Regions from separate parts of the Homo sapiens genome. Here region 1 is linked to region 2. The links are contacts of gene promoters, found by promoter capture Hi-C in blood cells and fetal thymus (Javierre and others, 2016). All regions are on one chromosome and are shown on one strand. Each heading gives the region's core, a stretch centred on a gene start or on the middle of the fragment in contact. The rest is flanking DNA. Distances are from core to core; before and after follow the strand shown.

Region 1 (5,575 bases), core at 506-3,005, 46 kb before region 2:
CTCTCGAGTAGCTGGGATTACAGGCAACCACCACCTCACCCGGCTAGTTTTTGTATTTTTAGTAGAGACCGGGTTTCACCATGTTGGCCAGGCTGATCTCGAACTCCTGACCTCAGGTGATCCACCTGCCTCGGCCTCCCAAAGTGCAGGGACTACACGCATGAGCCACCATGCCTGGCCTCACCTACATATTTAACCCAAGAACTTTACTAACATTTTTCCCTCTGAGGTAATGCGTCTAAGTTTATGTGATAATCCAGAAGTTTCAAACAAGCATCCTACCAATATTTTCCATACAATAAATACAATGAAAAACTCTTGAAAAATTAGTGTGATGTGTGCTATCTGAAGTACTGAAAAATGTGCTCGAAGGTTTATAAGCAAACATAGACAATGAAATAAAAATTTGATGACAAAAGGTTTGGTGATTAAACCTTTGTTATAATTTTGTCTATAACCAAATGTTTGCTTCCTCAGCTTTAACCTTAAGCATATACTTACCTTATAAGTATAAATATAATGTAAAAATTTATACTAACTATGTTTATACAACTACTTCAGGGTTCTTTTCCTCATATTGAGATGAAAAATTGAAGAAAATGTGAAAAAATGCAAAACCATGGCTGGTTGTGTACTGCATGAAAAATGGAACATAATCTCACATTTCTGTAACTAAAACAGGGTGCAAAAATGGCATTGCTTCCAAACTAGCAAATTAAAATAATTACTGGAATAAAAATATGGCCCACTTGTGTGAGTATAATATCAGCTGCTCAAATACTAAAAGAAACAATAGTCTGACCTCATCAAAAAATTGCTGAGTTTTGCGAAGTATAAATTTTAATTCGGTCAGTTCCAGGAAGTTTCTCTTCAGAGCTTCCTGGTTTGTGTTGATTTCCTTCAGTTCATTTTCAATCTTCTCAAAATTGGCCTAGATGAAATAAGAAAATATATTAAGCTAAGCTCAATATGTTTGCTCTGAAAGACATTAAATGAATTCATCCCACAGAACTGTTGCCAAGCCGATAGTTCAAAGAGAACTTGGACTTGCCTAGCAAATACTGTGATTTTACTAGAGCAATTTTCTTTATGGAAATTTTTTTGCTTAAAATAATCTCTCCTGGGCCGAGGCGGGTGGATCACTTGAGGTCAGGAGTTCGAGACCAGCCTGACCAAAATGGTGAAACCACGTCTCTACTAAAAATACAAAATTAGCTGGGCGTGCTGGCGCATGACTGTAGTCCCAGCTACTTGGGAGGCTGAAGCAGGAGAATCACTTGAACCCGGGAGGTGGAGGTTGCAGTAAGCCAAGATCACACCACTGTACTTCAGCCTGGGCAACAAGAGCAAAACTCCATCTCATAAATAAATAAATAGTCTTTCCTGGCCGGGCATGGTGACTCACTCCTGTAATCCCAGCACTTAGGGAGTCTGAGGTGGGTGGCTCATCTGAGGTCAGGAGTTCAAGACCAGCCTGGCCAAACATGGCGAAACCCCGTCTCTACTAAAAATACAAAAAAAAATTAGCTGGGTGCAGTGGTGCATGCCTGTAATCCCAGCTACCTGGGAGGCTGAGGCAGGAGAATGGCTTGAACCCGGGAGGCGGAGGTTGCAGTGAGCCAAGATCGCACCACTGCACTCCAGGCTGGGTGAGAGAGCAAGACTCTGTCTGGAAAAAAAAAAAAAAAAAAAAAAAAGTCTTTCCTTTCTAAGTCATTGTAGAAGTCAAAAAAATAGTCTTTCTTTGTTTACACATTCTATTGTATACTTGGTAACTTTCTCAGGCGATTTCAGATGGATAAAATAATTACTGAGAAGTCTACTGGCTGCCCATTTAGTCTGCAAGATTGCAAGATTAACCAACTAGTAGATAGGCCAGGTGTGGTAGCTCACACCTGTAATCCCAGTACTTTGGGAGGCTGAGGCAGGCAGATTGCTTGAGGTTAGGAGTTCGAGATCAAGCTGGCCAACATGGGAAAATCCCATCTCTACAAAAAATACAAAAAAATTAGCCAGGCATGTTGGCACACAGCTATCGTCTCAGCTACTCTGGAGGCTGAGGTACTAGAACTGCTTGAGCCTGGGAGGCAGGGGTTGCAGTGAGCCAAGATGGGGTCACTGTAGTCCAGCCTAGGTGATAGCTATGTCTCAAAAATAAAATAAAATAAAATAAAATAGTAGATAACTTACTCCAATAAGGTTTCGATAAACCAATAAACATTTACTTAGTGGCATATAATACTGTTTGAGTGCTGTTTGTCACCATAAAAGAGGGGATTCATATGGTCTGGCCATAAAAAAAGAATAAAATCATGTCATTTGCAGCAACATGGATAGAACTGGAGGTCATTATGTTAAGCGAAATAAGCAGGGCACAGACAAATAATACAAGTTTTCACTCATATGTGGGAGCTAAAAAAGTTGATCTCATAGAGGTAGGGAGTGGAATGATAGATACCAGAGGCTATGAAGGGTGTGTGGGTTTGTGGGGGGATGAAGAGAGGTTGGTTAATGTGGACAAACATACAGTTAGATAGAAGGCATAAGTTCTAATGCTCAATAGCAGAGTAGGGTGCCTATAGTTAACAGCAATGTACTGTATATATTTCAAAATAGCTAGAAGAGAAGAATTGAAATGTTCCCAACACATAGAAATGGTAAATACTCAAGGTGATGGATACTCCAAATACCCTGACTTGGTATATACACATTCTATGTATATACCAAAATATCACATGTACACCATAAATGTGTACAAATATTATCTATCAAAATCCCACCTACAAGAAACTTACAATCAGTAGATAATGCTGACAAAGTTAGCAAGAATTACTTTACTCTCTATCTGCTCAGGAAAGTAATTTCTGCGTTCAAGTAGAAAGAAACTTTTCTGGTTTTCCCAGAAGTGTTTACCTCTAAGTCAATCATGTCCCGGGGGAAGGGAACCTCTGGGTTTTCACCGGTGTCCATAATCGGAATGTTAGCTTTTCTTATCTCTTTCTCAACAAATCCTAAAATGACAGAATCAAAACATTCATGTCTAACTGCACATGCTCGTAATTGCCATTATTTAAGGAAAAGAATTAACATCTAAGACCTGGTTACAAAAAGTTTTATTCAAAAAAGATACTTTATATATATATATAAAAGATATAATATCTTTTAATATGAAAGAAGCACCTTTTTTCTCCCCATCCCTCTTTCTCCTTCCTCACATTCTCTAAAGTTACTCCAAAGGGTGGTCATCCCACAACTGCCTTCTTTCCTTCTTCAGGTCTTAACACTGGCCTTCAAGGCCACACCTCTCCTCCATACGCGAATGCCACTCCAAAGTATGACAGTTCTGCTTATAGATATTATTGGCAAAGCAGAGTTATGAAGAAGAGTATAATGCAATAGAATATTTGACACTTAACACACTAGTGAGACAACTCTAGATCTAAAGGGGTTCATTAAATTTGAAAACAATCAGGTCAGTTTTAAGCATAAAAAACAAAAATGAAAAAGCAGAACAGGTAATAAGGACACAAAATACCAGAAGAGAAGAGTGTTTCAGGTAACAACTACAACTGTTTTTTATAGTGGGGACCAAATTCACTTATCAGCTAACCATAAGCTGGCTTAGTAGAGTGGCAAGATCATGGACTTTTGAGCCAGAGAGAGCAACCTGGCTTCAAATACTGATTCCATCATAACTGTTTATGATCTAGGGCAAGTCATTAAGCCTCTCTAATCTTTAGTTTCCTCAATTATTAAATAAGATAATACCCATCTTGAAGGAATGTTGTGGAGAATGAATAAAGTAATGTATATGAGCAACCTAGCCCTCAAGAGAACTTAGATAAATGTTAGTTTCCTCCCTTTTTTTTTTTTTGAGACGGAGTCTCGCTCTGTCGCCCAGGCTGGAGTGCAGTGGTGCGATCTCAGCTCACTGCAAGCTCTGCCTCCCGGGTCCATGCCATTCTCCAGCCTCAGCCTCCCCAGTAGCTGGGATTACAGGCGCCTGCCACCACGCCCAGCTAATTTTTTGTATTTTTAGTAGAGACGGGGTTTTACCATGTTAGCCAGGATGGTCTCGATCTCCTGACCTCGTGATCCACCCGCCTCAGCCTCCCAAAGTGCTGGGATTACAGGTGTGAGCCACCGGGCCCAGCCAGTTTCTTCCCTCTTAAATAGCTCAAATTAAAAGGTGGCTCTGCTGACAAAAACTGATGGTGTGCTGGGTCCTATTTCTCAAAATTCTATCATGTAGTTTTGTTATTAAAATCTCACAAAAAAACAACCAGTTTTCAGTTTGCAGCATGTTATTTCAAACGAGGTTTCCATTAAGCACTACTTAGCCCAAAGACCACAAAATCTACTCGTATACGAGAAATACACCTTGGCATCTTAACTGCAAGATTTTTCCCTTTTCTCTTATAACATTTTCTTCCTCTATTAAGAGGACTAATGTCACTAATCTAAGACAAATGATTCATTAAAGGAACATTACACAAGACCAAAGTGCACATACGAAGCTTTCGATCCATTTCTTCACATCTTCTAACTTCATTCACAAATTTCCGTTGGAAAACATTCACATCTGGATTTAACTGAAAAATAAAAACACAATACCAAACATTGAAATATTGTATCTATTTCTTCTGTTTCTCAAGCAACACATTCTGCAAAGCGAAAAACTAATTTTCTGTCAATGCATGATGCAACACTAATCAAAACTGTCTACTGATCCAAAAAAACTGCTTTATGGCCAGTCACACCAGCTAAGGATAAAAACTTCCTCCCTCGTTGCTGCAACATTACTGGAATGGAGGCAAATTAGGTAAAACACAACGGTACAAAAATGTTCTTCCTAGGCAAAAGTCTCAGTGAGCTTCCTTCCCACCACCTAAAATTTGGGCAATGAATATCACAGAAGCTCTCTCTGGTTTTCCTTCTTTCTTTCCAAGCACAAGAGGAACTTCTCTTGTTTTTCTGTCCCAAGGCCTTCACCTTCTCAGTGACAGGCTTTAGTTTATTCATTCATACACCACAAGTAATTGCTTTTTTTCTTTTTGAGACAGAGTCTTGCTCTGTCACCAGGCTGGAGTGCAGTGGCGTGATCTTGGCTCACTGCAACCTCTGCCTCCCAGGTTCAAGCAATTCTCCCGCCTCAGCCTCTTGAGTAGCTGGGATTACAGGTGCGCACCACCATGCCCAGCTAATTTTCTTGCATTTTTAGTAGAGACAGGGTTTCACCATGTTGGCCAGGATGGTCTCAAACTCCTGACCTCAGGTGATCCACCCACCTCGGCCTCCCAAAGTGCTGGGATTGCAGGCATGAGCCACCACGTCTGGCACCATAAGTAATTTTCAAAGCAATATGACAGATGTTCTGGAATATACAAATAAAAACAAAACAAGTAACTACTCACTAAAAAGCTAGCAATCTGGCCGGTCACGGTGGCTCACGCTTGTAATCCCAGCATTTTGGGAGGCCAAGGTGGGTGGATCACCTGAGGTCAGGAGTTCAAGACCAGCCTGGCCAACATGGCGAAACTCCATCTCTACTAAAAATACAAAATTAGCCGGGCAT
Region 2 (5,698 bases), core at 2,861-5,360:
GAGGCCGAGGTGGGTGGATCACCTGATGTCAGGAGTTCGAGACCAGGCTGACCAACCTGGTGAAACCCCGTCTCTACTAAAAGTACAAAAAATTAGCTGGGCGAGGCCAGGCACAGTGGCTCACGCCTGTAATCCCAGCACTTTGGGAGGCCGAGGCAGGCGGATCATGAGGTCAGAAGATCGAGACCATGCTGGCTAACATGGTGAAACCCCGTCTCTACTAAAAATACAAAACATTAGCCAGGCGTGGTGGCAGGCACCTGTAGTCCCAGCTACTTGGGAGGCTGAGGCAGGAGAATCGCTTGAACCCAGGAGGCGGAAGGTGCAGTGAGCTGAGATCATGCCATTGCACTCCAGCCTGGGCAACAGAGCAAGACTCCGTCTCAAAAAAAAAAAAAAATTAGCTGGGCATGGGGGCACACACCTGTAATCCCAGCTACTTGGGAGGCTGAGGCAGGAGAATCGCTTGAACCCGGGAGGTGGAGGTTGCAGTGAGCCGAGATTGTGCCATTGCACTCTAGCCTGGGTGACAGAGAGAGACTCCATCTCAAAAAAAAAAATGATAATAATAATAATCATCATCATCTAAGGATCTTATGGGACACTTAAGAAATGAAGGTCCTATAAGGTTCTCTACTGTCACTCCTCTTTTTTCCAAAAGCTTTTTCAATCCTTAGTAGAAGGAATTTAAATTACTTTAATACATTTCTCCTAAATTCTAAAGTAAGTTGGTAATCTGCCAGTTCTAGCAGTTATATGTGTATATATGATCTTATATACTAGCTTAATTCTACTTGAGCCTCAAATGAGAAAGCCATTTGTTTGTGAGAAAACAGTTATTGAAGTGTTAGGGTACCCGGTGTGGTGGCACACCTGTAGTCCAAGCTACTTGAGAGGGTGAGGTGGGAGGATCACTTGAGTCCAGGAGGTCAAGACTGCAGTGAGCTGTGATTGTGCCACTGCACTCAGCCTGCATGACAGAGCAAGACCTTGTCTCAAAAAAAAAAAAAAAGTTGGAAAAAACACAAAGCCGAAGTGGCTCACGCCTGTATTCCTAGCATTTTGGGAGGCCAAGGCAGGTGGATCCCTTGAGCCTAGGTGTTTGAGACCAGCGTGGGCAACACGGTGAAACCCCATTTCTACAAAAAATACAAAAATTAGCTGGGTGTGATGGTGTGCGCTTATAGTCACAGCTATTTGGGAGGCTGAGGTGGGAGGATCACCTGAACCCGGGAGTTCGAGGCTGCAGGGTCAACAGAGTGAGACTCTGTCTTAAAAAAAAAAAAAAAAAGGCGGGGCACAGTGGCTCACACCTGTAATCCCAGCACTTTGGGAGGCCAAGGTGGGTGGATCACGAGCTCAAGAGATTGAGACCATCCTGCCCAACATGGCGAAACCCCGTGTCTACTAAAAATACAAAAAAAAAATTATCTGGGTGTGGTGGTGCGTGCCTGTAGTCCCAGGTACTCGGGAGGCTGAGGCAGAAGAATCGCTTGAACCCAGGAAGTGGAGGGTGCAGTGAGCCAAGACTGCACCACTACACTCCAGCCTGGCAAAAGAGTGAGACTCCATCTCAAGAAAAAAAAAAAAAAAAAGGAAAAAAAGAGGTTACCAGTAACCACGTATCTTGCCTTTCTAGCAGAAACAGTACTTCAGGATAACCTGATAAACAGCCCTAGTTGATGGCTCCATTTTCTATGAGAATTTCGGATAACAAATATGGTGTTGTAAACCCTTAAAAAACCCTACAATGTTGTTAGGGCACTAACCCAGTCCCTGCACTGTCGGTCTCCTTTCTGAGTTTGTGGGTTCTCTGTCTGGGTTGAGGAGGCCCTGGGTCCCCATAGACCAGTTTTTCACTCTTCCTAATGATAATGGATACCAGACTAGAAGTGACCTTTTGCCAGGACCATCATCCAGCCAGCTGGGGAAACCCAAGTGTGGTTTCCTAAGGAGGGAAAAGGGTTGCCGCTTTTCTGTGGGAAAGGGAGCTGGCGCCACTTCAGACACTCACAGCACCAGTGCTGTGCTAGACAGCAAAATGGGGGAGGATGGGCAGCCTCCCTATTTCTGGACTTTCTGCACTAAGGACCCTCCTTGGGCCTGCTCAGAATTGCCTGCTCCCTTGTACCCAGCATGGATGAAAATATGCTTTGGTTAATCTTCTGAAACAGCACATGGGAGTTGGGGAGTGGCTGTGGGTGCCTGTCTCCCTGCCCCAGTGGAAGGCTTAGAGCAGAAGGTGGAAAGAGCATGAAAGCAGGAGTCCAGACCTGGGTTCAAGTGCCAATGCCAACACTAACCTGCGAGTGATCTCTGGCAAGCCACCTGTCTTCTGCAGGCTTTCCTTTTCCTGTCTGTCAAATGAGGGGGTGGGATTTGATGGTCTCTCCGATGGCTTACTGTTAGTCCCTGGAATCTTGAAAGAGAAATGGACTCCTAGATCCTGCTCACTGAGATTGGTGTCAGCTGCCTCTGAGGGGGCGGTGGGAGGGGGAACACAGGGAAAGGTGAGTTTTAGAGAGAGGTGAGACGTGGGTTTGTGGGTTGCTTTTGTTTTTGTTTTTTTTGTTTTTTTGAGACAGAGTCTCACTCTGTCTGCACTCAGACAGTGGATTACCAACTGGCAGATTACCAACTTACTTTAGAATTTAGGAGAAATGTATTAAAGTAATTTAAATTCCTTCTACTAAGGATTGAAAAAGCTTTTGGAAAAAAGAGGAATTCTACTCTGTAGAATTCCACTCAGGCTGGAGTGCAATGGCGCGAATCTCAGCTCATTGCAACCTCTGCCCCCCGGGTTCAAGTGATTCTCCTGCCTCAGCCTCCCGAATAGCTGGGATTACAGGCATGCGCCACCACGCCTGGCTAATTTTGTATTTTTAGTAGAGATGGGGTTTCTCCATGTTGGTCAGGCTGAGGTCGAACTCCCGACCTCAGGTGATCCACCCACCTCCGCCTCCCAAAATGAGCCACTGCGCCTGGCCTAATTTTTGTATTTGTAACAGAGACGGGGTTTCACCATCTTGGGCCAGGCTGGTCTTGAACTCCTGACCTCGTGATCCACCCGCCTGGGCCTCCCAAAGTGCTGGGATTACAGGCATGAGCCACCGCGCCTGGCCTAAGAGAGGTGGGCTTTTAAAAAGGGCTTTACACCAGGCGCGGTGGCTCCCAGCACTTTGAGAGGCTGAAACCAGCAGATCACTTGAGCTCAGGAGTTCGAGACCAGCCTGGTCAAAATAGTGTACACCCCGTCTCTTAAAAAAATAAAAATTGAAAAAAATAAAAATTGAAATTAGCTGGGCGTGGTGGCAAGCGCCTATAGTCTCATCTACTCAGGAGGCTGAAGTGGGAGGATTGCCTGAGCCCAAGAGGTCGAGGCTGCAGTGAACTGTGATCAGACCGCTGCACTCCAGCCTGGGTGACAGAGTGACACCCTGTCTCAGAAAGGGGGGTTGGGAGGTGGGCTTTATTTTCCGTTTGATTGCCCATCTTAATTCTACTCTGTTAGGGCAATTCTAAAAAGAACTTAGAGGAGCTTCGCAGCCCTTCACCACCACCGTGACCCCAAATACGTTCTCTCTTTCTCCCCCCGCCCCCCACAAACAACCCCCTAAGCTTACCCCTGAGTTAGTAACCTGGTTGGGGTTGGTGATGAGGAAATCCGAGAGGCCTCTTAGAAAATATTGTAAAGGGCAAGGGTCCTTTTGTGCTCAAAATCTAGGTAAAGGCAAATACAAGATTTTGCCTATAATTTCAGAATCTCCTGGTCCACCCGGCTCCCAGATCTTGAGGATTTTCGGATGAGCAATTCAAGTGAGAGGGAAACAGAGAGCAACACTCTTAGAACCTGATTCCGTTCCTCAGCTCGCATTCCTCCGCCCGTCCCGCTCCCGCCGCCAGCGGAGGCCCTAGTCTCCCGCTCCAACTATTCCAACCATCCCGGGAAGGGTGGGGCGCTCGGCTCTTGGGTCCCCCTCCGCCGCCCCGCCTCGTCGATCTCCCCTTCTGCCCCGGTCCCTCCCTTTCTGGGGTGGGGCCAGCCAATCAGCGATCAGACTCCGGAGTTTGGCCCGGGAGCTGGGGAGCTCACCGATCCCCCGCCCAGCAGTTCTGGCCGCTGTCCCGGTGCGCACGGACGTGGCTCGAGTTTCCTCTGCTCTCCGCTCTCGCCCGCTAGCTCTCCTCCCTTCCGCTCCTGCTTCTCTCCGGGTCTCCCGCTCCAGCTCCAGCCCCACCCGGCCGGTCCCGCACGGCTCCGGGTAGCCATGGAGGACCCCACGCTCTATATTGTCGAGCGGCCGCTTCCCGGGTACCCCGACGCCGAGGCCCCGGAGCCTTCCTCCGCTGGGGCTCAGGCAGCGGAGGAGCCGTCGGGGGCCGGCTCAGAAGAGCTGATCAAGTCGGACCAGGTGAACGGCGTGCTGGTGCTGAGCCTCCTGGACAAAATCATCGGGGCCGTAGACCAGATCCAGCTGACTCAAGCACAGCTGGAGGAGCGGCAGGCGGAGATGGAGGGCGCAGTGCAGAGCATCCAGGGCGAGCTGAGCAAGCTGGGCAAGGCGCACGCCACCACGAGCAATACGGTGAGCAAGCTGCTGGAGAAGGTGCGCAAGGTCAGCGTCAACGTGAAGACCGTGCGCGGCAGCCTGGAGCGCCAGGCGGGGCAGATCAAGAAGCTGGAGGTCAACGAGGCCGAGCTGCTGCGGCGCCGCAACTTTAAAGTCATGATCTACCAGGTGAGCCCACAGGGCGGAAGGCGCCCAGAGCTCCCGCGCCCGGCCCGCGTCCCCTGCCTGGGAGTTGGGGTGGGGAGACCTGCCCGTGGCGCTGCTCCCCTCCCAGCCTGGCCCGGGCGCCCGGCAGATCCACCCTCCTTCCGGTGAGCGCGGCTGGGGTGGGGTTGGGTGGGGTAGGATGGGGTGGAGGGAGCGGCGGACTCCTGGGGCGCGTAGAGGGGCGCGCTCTGCACCTCGCACCTCCCCACTCAGATCCTTCCCTCGGGTCCCAAACTTGTAGCAGAACCGAATTAGCGGGTGGACTCGAGGACGCTGCCCCTCGCAGACCGCTCCCTCCCTAATTGGCTCTGTCAAACTTCTTCCTACTTGGGGGAAGTTTCTAGGAAAGTCAGGGGTCCCTCGCGATCGTTGGGGTCCGCTGTAAGCGGACACTGGCTGCGGGGCCCGGGCCTGGGGCCTCTGCGCCTGCGGGCCTGATATAGCGGGTGATTCAGGGCTCAGGCACGCACCAGCGGGGGCTGTGCCAAGCGGGGAACGCGACCGCCAACCTCCTCCCCAGACCCTGCGCCCCCGCGCCCCCACATCGGCCTCGGCGGCCCACCCCTGTCCCCTCGCTGCTCTCTGCTCCTGGCCACCAGGCATTTTCAGGCCCTTGAGGACACCCTCACCCGCGGCGCGCTGGCACCCTGGGCCTCCTGGAAGCGGGCGGGGCTGGGCGGGGAAGAGTGGGCGTCAGGAGTGCAAGAGGGGCTGGTGGAGTGGGTGGACAGCCCCTGCGGGGTCCGGCGGTCTGGGCGCAGTCTGGGCGAGGTGAATCACCCCGCATGCCTGCGGGGGCGGGGGCCAGGCGCAGCAGCGCAGCCGGCGGGAGGAGGCTGGCGCCCCCACCCCCCGGCTCCGCCCGGGGCCACTTGTTGCTTTCTTTGCAGCTCTCCCCATTCTTCACACTTGGATAAAAA

Evidence for each region. Contacts are between HindIII fragments. The CHiCAGO score rates a contact against its expected background, and 5 or more counts as called.
Region 1: a contact is called between a fragment that was not itself captured here and the fragment with the promoter of CAVIN1 in region 2, in 4 of 17 cell types (megakaryocytes, M2 macrophages, endothelial precursors and 1 more). The highest score is 11.5, in megakaryocytes.

What each region holds. Positions count from the first base shown.
Region 1 is chr17:42,465,446-42,471,020 of GRCh38, reverse strand. ATP6V0A1 (ATPase H+ transporting V0 subunit a1) reads right to left here. Exons shown (of 22, transcript NM_001130021.3): 3 at 4,514-4,592; 4 at 2,914-3,011; 5 at 803-931. Among named protein-coding and RNA genes, the nearest start is that of ATP6V0A1, 9.4 kb to the right of the region's middle. The HindIII fragment of the contact is 5,529 bases long and covers 1-4,519 here.
Region 2 is chr17:42,421,668-42,427,365 of GRCh38, reverse strand. It overlaps CAVIN1 (caveolae associated protein 1), which reads left to right and starts at 4,110. Exons shown (of 2, transcript NM_012232.6): 1 at 4,110-4,739. The coding sequence starts at 4,269. It overlaps LOC102725238 (a long non-coding RNA gene), which reads right to left and starts at 4,178. Exons shown (of 4, transcript XR_007065758.1): 1 at 4,094-4,178; 2 at 2,304-2,475. The HindIII fragment of the contact is 2,664 bases long and covers 3,621-5,698 here.